Linked DNA regions of Homo sapiens: regions 1, 2, 4 and 5 are each linked to region 3. The links are contacts of gene promoters, found by promoter capture Hi-C in human tissues and cell types (Jung and others, 2019). All regions are on one chromosome and are shown on one strand. The core of a region is centred on a gene start or on the middle of the fragment in contact, and the rest is flanking DNA. Distances in the headings are between cores, read along the strand shown. Region 1 overlaps AHCYL2 (adenosylhomocysteinase like 2). Region 2 overlaps AHCYL2 (adenosylhomocysteinase like 2). Region 3 holds the start of NRF1 (nuclear respiratory factor 1). Region 4 overlaps AHCYL2 (adenosylhomocysteinase like 2). Region 5 overlaps ZC3HC1 (zinc finger C3HC-type containing 1).

What was found. Contacts are between HindIII fragments. The study calls those that stand out against the background at their distance.
Region 1: a contact is called between a fragment that was not itself captured here and the fragment with the promoter of NRF1 in region 3, in 1 of the 25 tissues and cell types used here (heart left ventricle).
Region 2: a fragment that was not itself captured here is called in contact with the fragment with the promoter of NRF1 in region 3 in 1 of the 25 tissues and cell types used here (IMR-90 fibroblasts).
Region 4: a contact is called between a fragment that was not itself captured here and the fragment with the promoter of NRF1 in region 3, in 2 of the 25 tissues and cell types used here (mesenchymal stem cells and mesendoderm cells).
Region 5: a contact is called between a fragment that was not itself captured here and the fragment with the promoter of NRF1 in region 3, in 1 of the 25 tissues and cell types used here (mesendoderm cells).

What each region holds. Positions count from the first base shown.
Region 1 is chr7:129,341,733-129,344,432 of GRCh38, reverse strand. All of the region lies in intron 1 of AHCYL2 (adenosylhomocysteinase like 2), which reads right to left. LOC105375500 (a long non-coding RNA gene) reads right to left here. Exons shown (of 2, transcript XR_927962.3): 1 at 1-2,700. Among named protein-coding and RNA genes, the nearest start is that of STRIP2, 91 kb to the left of the region's middle. The HindIII fragment of the contact is 3,656 bases long and covers 1-2,700 here.
Region 2 is chr7:129,282,051-129,284,750 of GRCh38, reverse strand. The region is part of intron 1 of AHCYL2 (adenosylhomocysteinase like 2); the gene reads right to left. Among named protein-coding and RNA genes, the nearest start is that of AHCYL2, 58 kb to the right of the region's middle. The HindIII fragment of the contact is 3,996 bases long and covers 1-2,700 here.
Region 3 is chr7:129,610,348-129,613,047 of GRCh38, reverse strand. It overlaps NRF1 (nuclear respiratory factor 1), which reads right to left and starts at 1,328. Exons shown (of 11, transcript NM_005011.5): 1 at 1,224-1,328. RefSeq lists enhancers at 41-180, 1,861-1,910 and a silencer at 481-1,470. The HindIII fragment of the contact is 9,254 bases long and covers 1-2,700 here.
Region 4 is chr7:129,258,216-129,260,915 of GRCh38, reverse strand. The region is part of intron 1 of AHCYL2 (adenosylhomocysteinase like 2); the gene reads right to left. Among named protein-coding and RNA genes, the nearest start is that of AHCYL2, 35 kb to the right of the region's middle. The HindIII fragment of the contact is 3,313 bases long and covers 1-2,700 here.
Region 5 is chr7:130,046,337-130,049,036 of GRCh38, reverse strand. ZC3HC1 (zinc finger C3HC-type containing 1) reads left to right here. Exons shown (of 10, transcript NM_016478.5): 2 at 1-4. Among named protein-coding and RNA genes, the nearest start is that of ZC3HC1, 3.7 kb to the left of the region's middle. The HindIII fragment of the contact is 4,946 bases long and covers 1-2,700 here.

The DNA.
Region 1 (2,700 bases), core at 57-2,556, 270 kb after region 3:
ATGAGTAGTTCATTCTTTTTTACTGCTGAATAGCACATTACATGGGTGTACCATACTTTATTTATCCATTCATTTATTGATGGACATGTGGTGTTGTTTCCACTTTGGGGCCATTATGAATCAAACTGTCATGGACACTTGTGTATAGGTCTTCATGTGAACAATGGGCTTCATTTTCTTGGGTAAATGCATAGGTAAGGGTGAAATTGCTGGGTCACCTGGTAAGAATATATTAAATTTATAATAAACTGTTTCACACCAGCAATGCATGATCATTACAACTGTCCCACACCCTCATCAGTAGTAGCTATTGTCACTCTTTTTAATTTTAGCCATTCTAGCAGGTGTGCAGTATCTCACTGTGGTTTTAATTTGCACTTCTCTCGTGGTGTTGAGTATCTTATATGCTTATTAGCATTCATATAGTATGTACTGTGCTATGTCTGTTCAAATCATTCCTCCATTTAAGAAACTAGATTATCTTATTACTGAGTTTTAGATTCCTTTATATGAATTCTAAATACCAGTCATTTTTCTGTATATGTATTGTGAATATTTTCTCCCAGTCTGTGCTTGCCTTTTTATTTACTTACCTGTGTCTTTTGAATAGAAGTTTCTAATTTTGGAGAACTCTATCAAAACATTTTCTTTTAGAGTATTTTTTGTGTGCAAAGAAAGTTTTGCCTACCCCAAGGTCATGAAGATTTTCTCCTTTGTTTTTTTCTATAGTCTATGATCCATTTTGAGTTAACTTCTATACTTGGAATGAGATCAGAAACAAAGTTCACTTTGCCCCCAAACAGTATTTAGTTGTTCCAGCACCATTTGTTGGAAAGAAAAATTTTTCCCCACAGAATTATCTTGGCTTCTTTTTCAAAATCCAGTTCATTCTATAGGTAGAGGTCTATTTCTGGAACTTCCCATTGCTCTAAGCTCCCCCTCTCCCTTTCTTCTTAAGTATTAAGCACAAAATAGTCTTCGAAGTCATAATTGATAGCAGGGAAGGTGCCTTAATTGTCCATATATCGCTAACAAAGTGACATCAGCATGACAATTTAATTCCTATTATAATGCAGGACAAATAAGAAAACATATGAAAATTAATGCTAAGTTCATCATAAACAGACCACTAAAAACAAACAATATCCTAGTGCCCTCTAGTGGGAGGAAACTGTACGGATATGCCAAGCAAGAAAGATGAGCTTTTAATAAACACTACTCACAGGAATATTGAATACCAAGAAATGTGACTAATATTTCCATGCCTTCTCCTCATGCTTTTTAAGACAAAAAATTTTAAATAAAAAAGGAAAATGTTTTGCTATTTTAAGCAACTTTAATCCAATGTGAATGCAATGAAATAGAAAATTGGATAGACAAACAAAACAGGTATTTGGAATTTATATCCCCATAGTATACTTCCCTATATAAAGGAAATGGGGCCAGAGGCCAAAGGAAAAGAGAAAAGATTTCACATAATTAAAAGATGTAAATGAAATTGTTTCAAGATACATAGTATAAATACATTATCAAGATATGTATGTTAATATATACTTGTAACACATAACGTGTAATATTATATACATATATGCCAAATTTTTCTAGAATGAAGCACAAGATGATGTCAACAATGACTGCCTGTGGTGAACAGAGGTGAGTAGGGAGAAAGGAAAGATTTACATATCCCTTATTTTAAACATGTAAAATAAATGCTCTTACTTTAAAATAAGGTCTACCACTTTGAAACAGTCTAATGGTAATTTTATATGCTTATACATGAACTCCCAAAATAGGTGGCAAGTGAATAATACTGCGTTTAGAACAGTGTGTTTCAACAGTTGATTATAATTAACCCTTGTTAAGTCCCTCAAGGTACAAAGCTACATAGCCGCATTCTCTAACACACAGAAGGGAGATTACTACAAGTTCCCTCATCTTTTAATTGGAAGTTCTTGGTATATTCACCTACCTTTTGCTTCTTTATTCCTATTTTAAAGGAAAGGGTCTCTCTCTTCATTATTGTCTCCTTCAAACTACCTCCCTACCCATATATTTTTAAAATCTATTATTCTGGTCACTTAGGATCAAAACTGAGTCATGACTCTTACTCTCCTTCCACAAATGTTCTTTGTTTCTTCTGGATATTACCTTTGAGTTAATGGGGAGGAGGAGTCTAAGAAGACTTGGGTTTCTGGTGCTCTCCTACCAGCTGATAGGGTGAATGATGATACCAACAAGTAACAGGAATACTTCAACACTGGTGTCCCTTCCCAACTCCACCCCTGTACTTTTGCATATAATTTCCTCAGTTTAAAATGCCTGCTCTGTCTCCTTCTTATTAAACTCTTTCTATTTACTTTCTGTTCTCCTTCCCTTCTCTTAATGCCAAAGTACATGCTGGTTCCCACATAAAGCTTTACCTTTATAACCCTGGAGATAAACCATTCTTCTGAGTGGTTTAATGGTTGTAATTACTGCCTGTACCACTTAACAGACTTGTAGTCCATGCTCCTTTACACTGATATTCTTCTCTTTAAGCACTTGCTATTTTTTCCCAAGTGTTGGTAAATTCTCAAGATCGTGGACAGATTACACAGTTTGTTTTATTTCTACTATCTTGCCACAAATAGGTTTCATATGATAACCATGAGTGTGTTATTCCCACCCTCGAAATTCACAGGCATTCGACAAGAAAGCTTT
Region 2 (2,700 bases), core at 13-2,512, 330 kb after region 3:
AACATAGAGGAGAAAGAGAAAGCAGGAGTGAAAGTCACAAGCTAGAATTCTCCAAGAGATTCCTTATCTTCATACTCCCATATGTGAGAATCACATTGTCTCAGGATGGCCCCCAAACAACTATTCCAAGCTTTTTTTTTTTTTTTTTTTTGAGACGAAGTCTCAACTCTGTCATCTAGGCTGGAGTGCAGTGGTGCGATCTTGGCTCACTGTAACCTCTGCCTCCTGGGTTCCAGCGATTCTCCTGCCTCAGCCTACCAAGCAGCTGGGATTACAGGCACATGCCACCATGCCCAGCTAATTTTTTTATTTTTATTAGAGATGGGGGTTTCACCATGTTGGCCAGACTGGTCTTGAACTCCTGACCTTAGGTGATCCGCCCACCTCAGCCTCCCAAAGTGCTGGGATTACAGGCGTGAGCCACCATGCCCGGCCAATTATTCCAAGCTTTTTCCATCCCACCTACAGGTGAAATTTTCCTATTCCTCACGCTTGTCCTTCCTCTCTGAGAAGACTAACAAATCCCTTCATCTTAACTACGGAATCACTCTCTGCTCACAGTCAACCCCAACCACATAACTTTCTTTCGTTTATTACTTCCACTAACAGAATTCAGTCCTTATCACTTCCCTTAATTTATTCAGCTAGGACACATTCTTCCTACCCCAGGAAGTCCTGGAAATCAATTATTTATAATAAAATAGTACTCACATTATTCATTAACCAGGCAAAGGACAGTGCTTTCTTTTAAAAAAATGACTCCATTGTAGAAAGGTTTAAAGATATTAAAATTTTTTAAATAGCTGGATTTTGATTTTGTTTTTTAAAGCCTCAGGATGTAAAAAGTTTCTTTATTCTATTCCTGGGTGGGTTTCTTCCCTAAGGTCACAAGATCAAATCAAACAAGATAGGTAGACTGGTTTTAAATTTTAAAAATGACCACCTGATGCTATTTGGAAGCTAATATGAAAAAAGATAGTGATGCTGAGTTCAGACCTCAGGGCCTGTGGTACAAAAAGTACTATATTGTTTGAGTCACACAACCATAGAACATATTAAACCTCTTTTTTATAGATAAAAAGCAAAGCACAAGCAAATACCAAAAAACACTTAAAATATAAAACTTTAGTCTCAAAATGATGGAAGAGAAGAAGGTGAAACTTAATTTTAAAGTCTAGAAAATTTCTGTCAGTACCTCATCTTTGGCAAATATATCCATTTAGTCTATATGTTTATCCTGAAACATTTCAAGCACATAAGAAGTATTTAAAATAATGGACTTCCATTTCTAGCCAATATGTAATAACAAGTATAAGATTTACCTACCTGCCTGAAACAAACAAACAAAAAAAGCAGAGAAAATACATGAAATGATGGTTTCAAAGACACTGCACATTAGGCAATGAAGAACAGCAATCCCTGAGAGACAGAAAACAAGTGAAGTAAGTTCTGTGAATGCTTCTGCTTACTGCCTTGAGAATATTTCCAAGGTGCAGTTTAATGAAGGAGGAACCCAAGTAGAGCCCAGGGCTATCTTCGTTGAAGAGATTGAGCTGAGAGTCTGGGAAGGCCAAGGCAGAGACAGTGTGCAGGATGGAGTACTGGAAAACGCGCTGCATGCTGGGAGCACCTGGAGCTCTGCAGTGGGCTCCTCTTAAGTACTCAGTGGGGTACTGACCAGTGAGTGCATGTAGGAACTACTTAGAAAACTAGAGGGAACACTAACTGGCACTCAAACAGAACAAGAACAATGCCTGTTCCCACCAGCCAAACTGGAAAACCCCGTAATTAACAAGGCACGAGGTAGAGTATTCCAAGGATCCTGGGGAGTAACTACCCTAGATGGAAAACTGCTCTGGCCCCACCTAACAAATATTTTTTTTTCTCCCCCTCTTCTCTCTATGTTTTTGAAACAAATCTTAAGGAAAGGATTCAACTGTATTAATAAATTAACTGTGACACAGAACAAATAAAAAAAAAATCCAGTACCTAAACAGGTAAAATTCACAATGTTTATAATCCACAAAAATTTATCAAACATGCAAAGAAAATATGACCCATGAAGAAGAAAAAAATCAATCAACTGAAGCTAACAAAATTGACATATATGTTAGAATTAGCAGACAAGGGAATTAACAAAGTTATTCCATATTCAAAAAGCTAAGTAGAAACATGGGAGAAAGAAAATAAGGCCTAAATCCAACTTCTACAGATAAAAAGAATAATGTCTAATATGAAAAATGCATTGGATAAGACTGATGGCAGATCAGACAAAACATAAGAGATGAGTGAACTAGAAGACACATAATAAAAACTACCCAAAGTAAACCAGAGTGGAAAAAGAATAAAAAGACCATGAGTGAATTCTGGGAACACTTTAAGCAGTTTAATATACATGTAACTAGAGTTCCCAGAAGTAAAGAGAGGATAAACAGGGATATTTAAAGAAATAGTGGCCAAATTTTTCCAAATTTGATATTGACAATAAACTCATAGATCTAAGATGCTAAATGAACCATAAGAACAAAAAACACAAGAAAAATGCACCAATAATAGAAAAATATTTTTTCAGTGCATATAAAAAATTTACCAAGATAAGCCATATTTGAGGCCATAAATCAATCCTCAATAAATATAAAAGAATTAGAGTCATACAAAGTATGTTCTCTAACCATAATGGAATTAAATTAGGAATCAACA
Region 3 (2,700 bases), core at 79-2,578:
TTGCTCTGACCACATAAAGAAATCAGCACGATTGACACCAGCTCTAAAATAAGCAATTAATATATTCTAATCTAATGCTTAAGAAGAATGGAGAGCAGGCAACAGCTCCTCCAACTGGTTGGAGCAGATATCACTGGAAGCCCCCCAAGTATTAAGATTTTTAAACAACTTCAAGTTCTGGTGGGCACAGCCAAATACACTGCAGAAACTTTGGGACCAGCAGCCACGACACAACAGGTGAGAGAGGCAGCAGACATCATTGCACGATGGAGTGCACAACATTCAATGACAAACCCGAAAAGGTCTGGGGATATGGGAAAATACCATGCACACGGCCATCTCAGAGCCCCTGTCTTTCCAGTGGCAAAAGGTTCTGTTCCTTCGGAGGGGCGTGCCACTCCCCCTCTCCCTCACCCAGGGGACCACCACCCCAGGCACAGGAAGAACCGCGGCCCCTCCGCGGGCACATCTCAGCTGGGGAAGAAAACACAATGTCGCTCCTTATTTCTGCGTACAAAAGGACTTTGCGCCCTCCTCCTCGAACTGCCGCCCCGGCCACCTCCTAACTTGCAAGAAGGTGGGCAACGCGCCATATTCCAGCGTCCCCCAGTCTACCTGGGTAACAAGCCCACGCCACCCCGGCAGGAGGGAAGCTTCGGAGGTCGCCCAAAGAGCCAGCCTCCTCTCCCGCAGGAGACAGCGGCTCCCGCGCCCCAGCCCGGCCCCACCGCGCCGCCCGCCCGCCCGCCCGCGTACGAGAGCCGGGAAGGGCCGAGGGGGCGAGCCGAGAGCCGCGGCTCCGGTCCCGCGCAGCCCGCCCACCTCCCGCTCCCGGGCCCGGCGCACTCTCCCGCGCCTCCCGCTCCCGAGCTGCGGGAAGGCCGGGCCCCGGGTTCCACGGCGGGGAGAAGGCCGCGGCCCCGAGAGCCCCAGGCGGCGGAGGAGGCCGGAACCCTGGGGCTCTCGGGAGGGCAGCGCCTCCCTCCCGAGCCCGCCAGGACGCCTGGGGCCTAGTGCGGCCTGCGCATCCTCGGGGTGGCGGTTTGGCTGGGCCGGGCCGGGGCCCCCCGCCCGAGGCGGGCCGAATCCGGCGGGGGCCCAGGCCCAGAGCCGGGGGCGGCAGGGTGCCGGCTGCGGGGCGGGCCGGCCGGCCGGCGGGCGGGCGGCGTGTTGCGGCTGCGCCGGGGCTGAAATAGCTGGAGATTGCGCGGTAGGGCACTCACCTCAGAGCGGCTGCGCTACCGTGGGCCTGCGCCGTGGAGACTGCGACCGCGCCGGCTCCTCGCAGCCTCCTGCCACCAGCGGCAATGGCGAGCGCTGCCGCTTCTGCCGCCGCCGCCGCCGCCGAGGAGGGGGAGGGGAGGGAGAGGGCACGCACGCGACGCACGGCCCGGCTTCCCCGCCCGGCCGCCGCCATGATGAGGAGGTCGGCGCGGCTGTGCTGCGGGCAGGCAGCGGAGAGGGCTCGCGGCGAGGGCTCCAGCTTACCCCGCCGCCGCGTCGCGTGCACGGAGCGCTTCAGAGGTTTGGAGGGGGCCGGAACCTCAAAAGCAACTGGATGAGCACAACGCGGACGCCCCGGAGAAGCGGCGCAAGCGGGCCCAAAATGGTTGCTGATCAGACGAGTGGCATCTCTCGCCCCCCTACCGCGGGAATTGGGACCTCCAGACTGTGCCTGGGGGATCGGCAAGTGGTTCCCCTCTGGTTTTTTCGGCGCTGCCTTCCCGGTGGTATCCTCACTCTCTCTCTTTGAAATGACCTCTGCTTTCCTATCTCTAACTCTTCCCAGATATTTGAAAGCAAGTTTTTGTACAAAGCAACATATGAATGTATTCAGCCATTCGATCGTTCGGCGAACATTTCTAGGTGTCTCGTGCTGTGCCAGATATTGTTCTGAGTGCGCTGAAGATGCACCTGTTAGCAAGACAAAGTCCTGGCTCCCACGGAGCTTATTCGAAGCAATAGGGGCCCCCAAGCAGGTGCCTGAGAAGTAGGGAGGGGTGGACAGTGGGAAAACAACCTAACGGTGGAGACACACGAGGGGTCTTTTTTTACTTTTAGAAACGGGGGTGGGTGGTCACCCTATGTTGCCTAGGCTGGTCTCGAACTCCTGGGCCCAAGCGATCCTCCCGACTCAGCCTCCCAAAGTGCTGGTATTACAGGACACCATGCCCGGCAGAGGGGTCGTTTTTGTTGTTTTTTTAGTGTCGTCAGGAGACTCCCTCCATCAGAATTACTCAGGCTGATTGTTTTGAGTCCTGGGACCCAGTTGGTATCCAGAATCTTGGCTTGTTTGCCTAGGAACCTGCATTTTCACATCCCCATCTCCACACCCCTGGTGATTCTTATGCATATAATAATGTGAAAAGCATTGCATTGAAGAATTGCTAAAGGGTGTCAGAAAACGGATTAACAAAATCAGGAAGCTTTAATTTTCAAGATTCTATTAACCTCAAAATTCAACATATCCAAAAATTGAATGTCTTTTTCTCCAGTGTTTTCTAGGAGAGTGCCAACACTAGCCACCCAAGTGCTCAAGCCAGAAACCTGGAAATGATCCATTACTCTTTCCTCTGTCTCTGGAGTCCCCATGTTAAATTAGATGTGTTTGTTTGTGAGACAGATTCTCACTCTATTACCTAGGCTGGAGGGCAGTGGTGCAATCATTGTTCACTGCAGCCTCGACCTCTCTGGGCTCAA
Region 4 (2,700 bases), core at 123-2,622, 350 kb after region 3:
TCGGGAGGCTGAGGCAGGAGAATCACTTGAACCCAGGAGGCGGAGGTTGCAGTGAGCAGAGATCGTGCCACTGCACTCCAGCCTGGGTGACAGGGCAAGACTCCGTCTCAAAAAAAAAAAATTGAAACCAATTTTAACATGTGTTGATGAGAGTTCAGTTGACTGTAAGCTCAAGGTGGGCCTTTGTACTGAATTGACAGCTTAAAAGTTAATACAAATTCATAGGTAATAAAATAACAGTACAGTGACCTGAACAAGGAAGAAAATTGAAACAGGTCAAGCAACACCCTGAGAATTATAATTTGAAATATGAAACAGGTCAAGCAACACCCTGAGAATTATAATTTGAAACATGACCTCTTACAAGTGATGCTGATAGCCAGGATGGTAGTAATGGCCTGGCCGACTACATCATATGAAGAATGATTAAGAGAAGCAGGAATGATTTCCATGGAGAAGAGACTATCTGGGGTAGGAAAAGTAAGAGCAGAACTGTCTACAAGTATTTGAATGATTGTATATTGAAGGGCAGGAATCACACTTGTATACATTTTATATTTATTCCCTATGCACCCAGTTCCAAGCTTTGCATATAGTAAATGCTCAAATATTTGAAGTCCAAGATCAATCCACCTGTTGAAGACTAAGCCAACAAAGACAGTTATACAAGAGTATCTGTTGTGATCTGAATGACAACTCAACAAAAGGATGAAGTAGGAGGAAGGAAACTTAAAATCAAAGTAAAAAGCCTTAACTGGCACAAGCTAAGCAGGCATAACTAAGGCACATTACCTTAAAAATCAGAATTTGTCTTATATCAGCTTTTTTTTTTTTTTTTTGAGATGGAGTTTCACTCACGTTGCCCAGGCTGGAGGGCAAAGGCATGATCTCGGCTCACTGCAACCTTCGCCTCCTGGGTTCAAGCGATTCTCCTGCCTCAGTCTCCCAAGTAGCTGGGATTACAGGCACATGCCACCATGCCCAGCTAGTTTTGTATTTTTAGCAAAGACAGGGTTTCACCATGTTGGCCAGGCTGGTCTCGAACTCCTGACCTCAGATGATCTGCCTGCTTCAACCTCCCAAAGCACTGGAATTACAGATGTGAGCTACCTCGCCTGGCCAACCTCAGCTGACATTCTTGACCATACTACTAGTTAAATTTTATTTCCTTTTGTAAGTATTTCCCCACAACAGAGTGAGTCGTCGTTTTCACTCTTCCTTTACAAAGAGAAAAACTGAGGTTGAGGGAAGTTATTTTCCTAGCACCAACATCATAACAATAGTTAACCTTGAATAGGAACCTTAAGCTTCTCGCTTACAAGCCTTGTTGTTAAAATCACTGGACTCATTGTGGGGTAGTAAACAAGTACAGTACTTAACTTAGAACTCAACCTCATTTGGTAATTACTTCAGTTTCACTTTTATTATTCTCCTCCAGTCATCTAATCTCTAAATCCACAAAGAGTAAGCCTACATTAATACTCTAAAACTTACAATCTTATGACTTGAAATTCAAAGGTTAGGAGTACAAAAGACTTATTGAAAAAAATTTTAAAATAATTTAAAATTTTAAAGACTAATATAAAAAATTAAGATTTGAGACCAAAGATTTGTCGCTCCTGTGCTGCTTAAGAAGGGGCCCTGGCACCACTTGTTCCACCATAAGCCAAATCTTGGCCATCAGAGTATACTAGGTACACACCACATCTCTCAAAACCTAAGTGGCCTTCTTTGTTTATCAGAGACTTGGTGCTGAGTGTTATTGCCAGAAGCAGTGGGAAAAAGGTAATGTTATTAAAGGAAGAAGAGGTCTTAATGTGAATGAAGGAGGCACACCAGAGATTCATTTCCTATTTTATATACATATTAGTTTGGTGTTAGTTTCTCAGAAAACTAAAAGAAGGTTGGAATAACACAGGACTTGATGGTGTCCAAGGAGCAGGATTTTAAAATAGCAAAATGCTACTCAGCTCTAGTTGTAGATGTAATAAAGGAATGCCCTAACAAGTGCTCACGCTCTCAACTTCCTGCCCAAGAAGGCTCATTTACATTATAATGGTTGCCACGGTTACTTTAATTCCATCACAGCTCCTGTCTCCAGTTGCTAATCTGGAGCCTGGGTGGTAAAACAACCAAAAACCTTAATTGAGGCTAACTCAAAACTCAGGCTACTCAAAAGTTCATGACCTACAAAAGGATTTTGTTCTAGCAACAAAAATTGCTTACGATAGGAACTGTTTGTTTCCTACACTCCATTCTATCCAAGATCTTACCTGGTATCTCAGGGAACTCTCTGGAAGTCAGTCAGTATTTTTATCTGCTATAAGCAGAGATTCTTGTAAAAAAAAAAAAAAAAAAAGCAAGATAAATAACATAAATTTTATAATGGGTAACAGATCAAAGAAGTGACTGCTTTATTCCAACTATTGGCATTCCAAGCTTTAATCAGAAAAGGCAATTATCTAAAAGAACATGGAGAAGTCTCCCAATGAATTATTAATGTCACTAAGTATTATCTTCTAAGAAGGATATCATGTAGTCCTGGTATACACGTAGTACCTAAATTAGGCATAAGGTTAGTATTTTGTATTTAAGCAACAATCCAACAGAATACACAGTAACAGAAAAAGTGAAGGATGGGGGATTCTTTTTTTTTTTCCTTTTAAAGGCAAAAAAAAAAAAAAATTGAGAACTGTGAAT
Region 5 (2,700 bases), core at 189-2,688, 440 kb before region 3:
TTCTATATCCTTTTTTAGTTCATGTGAATTGCACTTTCTGCCTGCTTCTAGAATTCCTCCAAGGTATTACACCACTTACTGTGATGCTTTAAACTTAAGAATAAAACCTTGGTAAGAAATTATATAGGAAAGTCAGCATCCTAATATGTTATCACTCAGAGGGACAGTTGAGGTTATCTAACCTTTTCTTTTTACAGAAGAAAAAACTAAGAGCCTGAGAAAAGAAGAAATAATAACTAATACTTGTATATAGTATGTTTTTGTATATATTATCACATTCGATCTTGACCTTAAACCTATGAAAATAAGCATTATTATTATACTTGTTTTACAGAAGAGGAAACAGTTTGGGGCAGGTTATATGACTTGCCCAAGATGAACCTGTTAGCAAATGGCAGATCCAGGATTATAATCTAATGTTTTTTAGATTATTAGAGACTACACTACTATAATGTCTCTTTCTAGATTTTCCTTTGTGTATTAGCTACCTATTGCTGCATAGCAAATTGCCCCAAAACTTAGTGATCTTAAAACAACAAACAGTTTTTATTTCATAATTTCTGTGGATCAGGAATCCAGGCATGGCTTAGCTGAGTCCTCTGGCTCAGGGTCTCTCACAGACTGCAATTAAGGTTGGTCAGGGCACTGTCATTTCAAGGCTCAACTAGGAAAATTGTCTCAAAAGAAAAATAAAATAAAATAAAACAAAACAAAACAAAATTAGCCAGGTGTGGTGGTGCTCACTTGTAATCCCAGCTACTCAGGAGTCTGAGGCAGGAGAATAGCTTGAACCTAGGAGGCAGAGTTTGCAGTGAGTCGAGATCGCGCCACTGCATTCCAGCCTTGGCAGCAGAGCAAGACTCCGTGTCAAAAAAAAAAAAAAAAAAAAAAAACAACTAGGAAAGGGTCCACTTCCAAACTCAGTCATTGGCATACTGTTGGCAGGATTCATTTACTTGTGTCTGTTGGACAGAGGGCTTCAGTTCTATACTGGCCATTGGCCAGAGATGTCCCTCCCCACTTGGTTCCTTGCTATGTGGGCTTCTCTAAAGGAAAGTTCACAACTTGGCAGCTGACTTCCATCAGAGTGAGCAAAGGAGAGAACAAGATACAAGCCAGCCTCATTTTGTAATCTAATCTCAAAAGTGACATCTCATCATTTTTGTCATATTTTATGCATTAGAAGCAAGTCACTAGGCCAGCCCATACTCAAGAGGAGCAGATAACACAAGGGCATGAATATAAGAAGGCAGGGATCATTGGAGCCACCTTAAAAGCTGTTCACATCACCTTGCTTTGAGAGAAGTCTTTAGTAGCTCCAGCTGCTTTTTTTTCCTGCCAAGTTTGCACCCCTACCCGTGTGTGTGTGTGTGTGTGTGTGTGTGTGTGTGTGTGTGTAGACAAAGTCTTGCTATGTTGCCCAGGCAGGTCTCGAACTCCTGGCCTCAAGCAATTATGCTGCCACAGCCTCCCAGAGGGTTGGGAGTACAGGCCTGAGCCGCCAAACCTGGCCCCGAATTTCTGTCTTATAAACTATTAACAAGGTCTTGACCTAGGAATCAAAAATTAACAAAATCTCAGAATTTAAGACCATAAAATAAGCCAAATCACACACCTTTTTTTGATCAAGAAACTAATACTGGCTAGGCATGGTGGCTTACGCCTGTAATCCTAGCACTTTAGGAGGCCAAGGTGGGCGGATCACCTGAGGTCAGGAGTTTGAGAGCAACCTGGCCAATATGGTGAAACCCTGACGCTACTAAAAATACAAAATTAGGCCGGGCGTGGTGGCTTACACCTGTAATCCAAGCACTTTGGTTTGCTGAGGCAAGTGGATTACGAGGTCAAGAGTTTGAGACCAGCCTGGCCAACATGGTGAAACCCTGTCTCTACTAAAAATACAAAAATTAACCAGGCATGGTGGCACATGCTTGTAGTCCCAGTGACTCGGGAGGCTGAGGCAGGAGGATTGCTTGAACCTGGGAGGCGGAGGTTGCAGTGAGCCGAGATCATGCCACTGCACTCCAGCCTGGGCGACAGGAATGAGACTCCATCTCAAAAAGAAAAAAAAGAATGCACAGTTAGCTGGGTGTGGTGGCATGCGCCTGTAATCCCAGCTACTCAGGAGGCTGAGGCAGGAGAAATTGCTTGAACCTGGGAGGCAGAGGTTGCAGTGAGCCGAGACCATGCCACTGCACTGCAGCCTGGGTGGCAGAGAAGACTCCGTCTCAAAAAAAAACTTATACTGGAATATTACCCAAATGAAAAAGTAAGCACATACCAGCTATCACATTGCATGTTTCACGAAGAGACATTAAACGTTATGTCATAAGTTTATTTAGAAACATACCTAGTGTGCTATATGCCTGACTTCAAGAATTTGATCCATTGTTTTGTTTCCTTTTTTCCCTTCAACTTTTTTTTTTTTTTGAGATGGAGTCTCATTCTGTCATCTAGGCTGGAGTACAGTGGTGCCATCTTGGCTCACTGTAACCTCCACCTCCTGGGTTTAAGCAATTCTCCTGCCTCAGCCTCCCAAGTAGCTGAGATTACAGGCGCCCGCCACCATGCCTGGCTAATTTTTTGTATTTTAGTAGAGATGGGGTTTCACTGTGTTGCCCAGGCTGGTCTCAAACTTTTGAGCTCAGGCAATCCTCCTGCCTTGGCCTCCCAAAGTGCCAAGATTACAGGCATGAGCCA